Regions from separate parts of the Homo sapiens genome. Here region 2 is linked to region 1. Evidence: promoter capture Hi-C in 16 types of primary human blood cells and fetal thymus (Javierre and others, 2016). All regions are on one chromosome and are shown on one strand. Each heading gives the region's core, a stretch centred on a gene start or on the middle of the fragment in contact. The rest is flanking DNA. Distances are from core to core; before and after follow the strand shown. Region 1 holds the start of UPK1A-AS1 (UPK1A antisense RNA 1). Region 2 overlaps PRODH2 (proline dehydrogenase 2).

What was found. The method cuts DNA at HindIII sites, captures the fragments that hold promoters and counts their contacts. A CHiCAGO score of 5 or more calls a contact.
Region 2: a contact is called between a fragment that was not itself captured here and the fragment with the promoter of UPK1A-AS1 in region 1, in 1 of 17 cell types (M2 macrophages). The highest score is 5.8, in M2 macrophages.

What each region holds. Positions count from the first base shown.
Region 1 is chr19:35,672,018-35,675,484 of GRCh38, reverse strand. It overlaps UPK1A-AS1 (UPK1A antisense RNA 1), which reads left to right and starts at 2,194. Exons shown (of 2, transcript NR_046420.1): 1 at 2,194-2,250. UPK1A (uroplakin 1A) reads right to left here. Exons shown (of 8, transcript NM_007000.4): 4 at 2,179-2,253; 5 at 1,940-2,047. The HindIII fragment of the contact is 2,419 bases long and covers 932-3,350 here.
Region 2 is chr19:35,805,718-35,809,062 of GRCh38, reverse strand. PRODH2 (proline dehydrogenase 2) reads left to right here. Exons shown (of 10, transcript NM_021232.2): 5 at 1,942-2,022; 6 at 2,233-2,388; 7 at 2,467-2,633. Among named protein-coding and RNA genes, the nearest start is that of PRODH2, 5.5 kb to the left of the region's middle. RefSeq lists an enhancer at 1,630-2,130. The HindIII fragment of the contact is 1,192 bases long and covers 722-1,913 here.

The sequences.
Region 1 (3,467 bases), core at 945-3,444:
ACATGATGAAACCCCGTCTCTACTAAAAATACAAAATTTGCCGGGTGTGGTGGTGGGCGCCTGTAATCCCAGCTACTTGAGAGGCTGGGGCAGGAGAATTGCTTGAATCCGGGAGGTGGCGACTGCAGTGAGCCAAGATCGTGCCACTGCACTCCAGCCTGGGAATCAAGAATGAAACTCCATCTCAAAAAATAAAATAAAATAAAATATTTTTATCAACAACTATGCTGATAAAATAACACAAAAAGGGCAGATTTCTGGCTTTTCCTGGCCTTGGTAAGGAATCCAGGTGTTTAATTTGTGGCTCCTGAATGAGGAAAACATAGGCTTGGGCACCCTTCAAACATGGGTTCAAATCCTGGCTAGCTAGAGGACTTGGGCCACATTGACGCCTCAGTTTTCCTTGAGTCCTCAATTTCTTCTTCTTTTTTTTTTTTTTTTTTGAGACGGAGTCTCCCTCTGTTGTCCAGGCTGGAGTACAGTGGCGCCATCTTGGCTCACTGCAACCTCCCCCTCCTGGGTTCAAGTGATTCTCCTGCCTCAGCCTCCCAAGTAGCTGGAATCACAGGCGCACACTACTACACCTGACTAATTTTTGTATTTTTTGTAGAGACAGGGTTTCACCATGTTGGCCAGGATGGTCTTGAACCCCTGAACTCAAGTGATCTGCCCGCCTTTGCCTCCCAAAGTGTTGGGATTATAGGTTTGAGCCACTGCACCCAGCCAATTTCTTCCTTTTCCAGTGCAATATCATGTTGGATTTGAGGAAGACTGTATCTCTTCAAACCTGGAAGTCTGAGTTTGAATCCTTCCAGTTCTGTGACCTACCAGGTGTGTGACCTCATGCAAGATATTCAACCTCTTGCTTTGGTCTCCTCATCACTAAAAGGCCGATCTCCCTTATGGAGTGGTCGTGAGGATTAAAAAAGCTTTAAAAGTGCTTTGAAAGGCTGGGCACGGTGGCTCAAGCCTGTAATCCCAGCACTTTGGGAGGCCGAGGCAGGTGGATCACAAGGTCAGGAGATCAAGACCATCCTGGCTAACACCCATCTCTACTAAAAATACAAAAAATCAGCTGGGCGCGGTGGCAGGCGCCTGTAGTCCCAGCTATTCGGGAGGCTGAGGCAGGAGAATAGCGTGAACCCGGGAGGCGGAGCTTGCAGTGAGCCGAGATCGCGCCACTGCATTCCAGCCTGGGCGACAGAGCAAGACTCTGTCTCAAAAAAAAAAAAAAAAAAAAAAAGATAAAAAGAAAAAAAAAAATGTGCTTTGAGGCCAGGCACTCGTGGCTCATGCCTGTGATCTCGGCACTTTGAGAGGCGGAGGTGGGAGAATCGCTCCAATCCTGAGCCCAGGAGTTCCAGACCAGCCTGGGCAATAGAGCAAGACCCCCATCTCCACAAAAGATAATTTAAAAAACTTAGCCGGGTGTGGTGGGGCGCACCTGTATTCCCAGCTACTCGGGAAGCTGAGGCGGGAGGATCACTTGAGCCCAGGAGTTGGAGGTTGCAGTGAGCTATGATCACTCCAGCCTGGGCAACAGAGCAAGACCCCATCTCAAAATATAAAAATAAAAGTCCTTTGAACAGTGTGAAACCTAGCTCAGTGAATGGTGCTGTTACTATCATTGTTATTATCAACATTTCTGTTGAGGTAGTATGTGTAGGCTAAGAGCAGGGAGGTCAGGAGCTAGGCTGCCGGGTTCCAATCCCAGCTCCCACCACTTACCGACTGTGTGGCCTCGGGCAAGGGACTTTCCCTTTCTGGGCCTGTTTACTCATCCGCAGAACGGTGATGACCGCAGCCCTGCTCTCCTAGAGATCTCATGAGCGGATGTCTTTAAGGCACTCACTCCTCTAAAAGCTGGCACATCGGGAGCTCTATCGGCCTCTGTGGACGGAGCCCAGGGCCCTCCCAGCACCCGGTCCACCCCGCCCACCTCAATCATGACGCGGTCCCAGAGGCGGGTCAGCTCCTGGCCCTGGTCGGTGTCCGCGCTGTAGAAGGTCAGCATCTGCTTGGTGATCAGGGATGGGTTGGACACCATCTGAGGAGAACAGGGAAGAACAAGGGCCGGCAGGGCTGGGTGGGGAGAGAGGACGACCTCCGCCCCGCCGCGCCGGGACCCTCGCCCCTCCCATGCAGGTCAGGCCCCTCCCCAGGCCTCGCCGGGCTCACGTAGTCACGGTGGGTGTAGGACGTGATGCAGGAGGCGCACTCGAAGATGTAGACGATGAGCATGAGCACCAGGTACTGGGGAGACAGAGGGAGGACGGCCCGTCGGGCAGAGCCCGTGAAGCCACACCCCGTCAGGGAAGCATCACTGGGGAAATGCAAGTTTTAAAAAAGTTTGGGGCAGTGTGACTAGCAGCATCTATAATATGTGGTGGGTGTTCAGGTGTTCGCTGTATTGTCTTCCAACTTTTCTGTATTTTGAAATATTTAATTTAATTAATTTATTTTTGAGACAGGCGAGGCGTGGTGGCTCACGCCTATAATCCCAGCACTTTGGGAGGCCGAGGGGGCGATCACCTGAGTCAGGAGTTCGAGACCAGCCTGGCCAACATGGTGAAACCCCTTCTCTACTAAAAATACAAAAATTAGGGCTGGGCATTGGTGGCTCACACCTGTAATCCCAGCACTTTGGGAGGCTGAGATGGGAAGATTGCTTGAACCCTGGAGTTCAAGATCAGCCTGGGCAACACAGTGAGACCCCGTCGCTACAAAAAATAAAAATAAAAAAATTAGTTAAGCATAGTTACTACTAGTGGTAGTGTTAGTCCTAGCTATTTGGGAGGCTGAGGTTGGAGGATCGTTTGAGCCCAGTAGTTGGAGGCCTCAGCGAGCTATGATCGCACCACTGCATTCCTGCCTGGGCAACAGAGCAAAACCCTGTCTCTTAAAACAAAACAAACAAGGGTGGGTGCAGTGGCTTACGCCTGTAATCCCAACACTTTGGGAGGTTGAGACGGGTGGATCACCTGAGGTCAGGAGTTCAAGACCAGCCTGACCAATATGGTGAAACCCCATCTACTAAAAATGCAAAAATACAAAAATTAGCTGGGCATGGTGATGGGTGCCTGTAATCCCAGCTACTCAGGAGGATGAGATAGGAGAATAGCTTGAACCCAGGAGGCAGAGGTTGCAATGAGCCGAGATTGTGCCATTACACTCCAGCCTGGGCAACAGAGTGAGACCCTGTCTCTTAAAATAAAACAAACAACATAAAACGATGTTCTCAGATAATCAGAGACATTTGACACAGACTGGGTATTGGAAGATATAGAAGAACTTGATTGAATTTGGTGGGTTGTGCCAACGGCACAGAGGGCAGGAGAAAAAAAAAAGCTTGTCAGTTGATGTTTAATGCAAATTCTTTTCATGTCCTCACCTGGCACCTTCATCTATAAAGCAGCAGGAGGTTGCGTGTGGATGTGTGAACTCTGCTGCTGGGAGATGGATGACAT
Region 2 (3,345 bases), core at 68-2,567, 130 kb before region 1:
ACACCTGTAATCCCAGCACTTTGGGAGGCTAAGTGGGGCTGGATCACTTGAGGTCAGGAGTTTGAGACCAGCCTGGGCAACATGGTGAAACCCCATCTCTACTAAAAATATAAAACTTATCCAGAAGTGGTGGCACGTGCCTGTAGCCCCAGTTAATCAGGAGGCTGAGGCAGGGGAATCACTTGAACTTGCACCACTGCACTCTTGCCTGGGAGACAGAGTGAGATCTATCTCAAAAAAAAAAAAAAAAGAAGGAAGGAAGGAAGGGAGGGAAGGAGGGAGGGAGGGAGAAAAGAGAGAAAGACCCAGGCTCTGGAAAGGCTGAGGTTTAAACCTCAGGTCTGCCCTGAGTTAGCTGTGTGACTTTTGACAAGTGACTTCCCTGCTCTGTGCCTCAGTTTCCCCATCTAGAAAATGGGGGGATAATAACAGTTGGTACATTAGAGAGTGGTAAATATTAAATGAGTTAAATATTTGGTGGGTGTCTGAAATAGCTCCCTGAGGGCCTAAGACTACGCCCCAAGTCAAGCAGGAGACAATCCTCTGACAGGGGAGGAGGAAACCAGGCTGCTGCCTCCAGGTCTTCCCTTCTCCAGGAGGCAGCATTCTCCCCACCATGCGGAAGGTTGCAGCTTCCAGCCCAACCTGCCTCCAGGTGGGATTCCATGAGCAAGCCCAGGCCTATGTCATCTGTATCGACCCTGTTGGATATAATAAAGCTTTCAGCCCCACCTGTTCCTCTTTCTTCCATTTCCCAACTTCTTTGAACCCAGCCAGACTCCCTGGAGTCACCAGCAGCTCACATTCAGCCAGATGAATCTGCATAAGACTGTGAGTTAGAAACGGTTCTTATTTCCATGTTACAAGCATATCCACTCCCGAAGTGTTTGCTGAACATCTATCTTGTTCCAGACACGGTGCTAGGGGCCGAGGAAGCATGAAGGCAAAATCCCTGACCTCGAGGCACTTACTTGCAAGTCAGGGGCAAGAGACAATAATTAAAACCAAAGTCAGAATCCCAGCACTTTGGAAGGCTGAGGTGGGAGGATCGCTTGAGTCCAGGAGACTGAGACCAGCCTGGGCAACATAGGAAGACCTTGACTCTACAAATAGTAAAGAATTAGCCCGGCATGGTGGTGGGTGCCTGTGGTACTAGGTACTTGGAAGGCTGAAGCAGGAGGATTGCTTGAGCTGGGGAGGTGGAGGCTGCAGTGAGCCATGATCGTGCCACTGCATTCCAGCCTGGGCAACACAGCAAGACCCCGTCTCAGCAAAACAAAAGTCAGTACGTAACAAGTAAGGGAAAATAAGGCTGAGGAAGAGGAAAAGAAGTTGCCAATGTATAGGTGGGAAAACCATGTTGAGAAAGTGACATTAGAGCAAATACTTGAAGGAAACATGGGAGCAGGTAAAGGGCTGGAGGTGGGAAGGTGCCCTCGTGTTCAAAGAGTAGCAGGGAGGGCTGAGCACGGTGGCTCACACCTGTAATCCCAGCACTTTGGGAGGCCGATGTGGGCAGATCACTTGAGGTCAGGAGTTCGAGACCAGCCTGGCCAACATGGTTAAACCCTGTCTCTACTAAAAGTACAAATATTAGCCGGGCATGGTGGCGGGCGCCTGTAATCCCAGCTACTCGGGAGGCTGAAGCAGGAGAATCACTTGAACCCAGGAGGCAGAGGTTGCAGTGAGCTGAGATCATGCCACTGCACTCCAGCCTGGGCAACAGAGCAAGACTCTGTTTCAAAAAACAAACAAACAAAAACTGAGGCCCAGAAAGGTTACATAACTTGCCCAAGGTCACACAGTAGGTGGTGAAGCCTGGATTCGAGCCCTGATTCTAGGCTCATAACCCCCTCAATAAATAGTACCTAACTGATATTGCTCATTTTTAGATTTCTAGCAACTTATAAGCTTTTCCCCACTTCCCCTGCTGCCCCCTAGAACCTCCAGGTCTCCTGCCTCAATGCTGAGCAGAACCAGCACCTCCGGGCCTCCCTCAGCCGCCTGCATCGGGTGGCACAGGTAACCCCTCCTGCTGGAACCAGCACCTCCGGGCCTCCCTCTGCCGCCTGCATTGGGTGGCACAGGTAACCCCTCCTGCTGGAACCAGCACCTCCGGGCCTCCCTCAGCCGCCTGCATCGGGTGGCACAGGTAACCCCTCCTGCTGGGATCTGGCTCCACTGCCCCTGCTGGACACCCGGGGCCCTGACCGTCGTCTCTGTCGCCATCAGTATGCCCGGGCCCAGCACGTGCGGCTCCTGGTGGATGCGGAGTACACCTCACTGAACCCTGCGCTCTCGCTGCTGGTGGCTGCCCTGGCTGTGCGCTGGAACAGCCCGGGTGAAGGCGGGCCCTGGGTGTGGAACACCTACCAGGCCTGTCTAAAGGTGTGCAGTGTGTTCCAGGAGGTACAGGCTGGGGTCCCCACACCCTGACCTACCAGAACCTGCCTGCGTGCCCTATAGGACACATTCGAGCGGCTGGGGAGGGATGCAGAGGCTGCGCACAGGGCCGGCCTGGCCTTCGGAGTGAAGCTGGTACGAGGTGCATATCTGGACAAGGAGAGAGCGGTGGCCCAGCTCCATGGGATGGAAGACCCCACTCAGCCTGACTATGAGGCCACCAGTCAGAGGTAGGCCCGGGCCAGCTGGCCTCTGCAGGAAATAATAACACCTAGTGGTTGGGTGCAGTGGCTCATACCTGTAATCCCAGTGCTTTGGGAGGCTGAGGCTAGAGATTCACTTGAGAGCAGGAGTTGGAGACCAGCCTGGGCAACACAGGGAGACCCCATCTCTAAAAAATTTTAAAAATAGTCAGGTGTGGTAGCACATGCCTGTGGTTCCAGCCACTTAGGAGGCTGAGGTGGGAGGATCACTTGAGGCCAGGAGTTCAAGGCTGCAGTGAGCCATGACTGCACCACTGCACTTCAGCCTGGGCAGCAGAGCGAGAATCTGTCTCAAAACAAACAAACAAACAAACAAACAAACAAAACAAAACAAAAAGAAATCCTTACAGTGGCCTCTAAGCCCCACATGCTCCCTGTCACTTCCCTAACTTTCCCTCCCTCTCTTCCTCTCCCTCACTCCACTACAGCCACACTGGCCTCCTCCATGTTACCCAGGGGCTTGGCACATCCTGTTTCCACTGCCTGGGACATTCCCACTGCAGACAGTGGCATGGCCCCATCCCTCACCTCCTTAGATCTTTACTTCTTGGTACCTTCTCTGGGGGCCACAGGGACTCAGCCAGGCTACAGAGCAGGTGGCCTAGCCACGCTTGGAATCCAGGCTCATGTCCAAGATCTGCAGGGGCTCCAGGGCACGTTTGTGTACCATCAGCTTAAC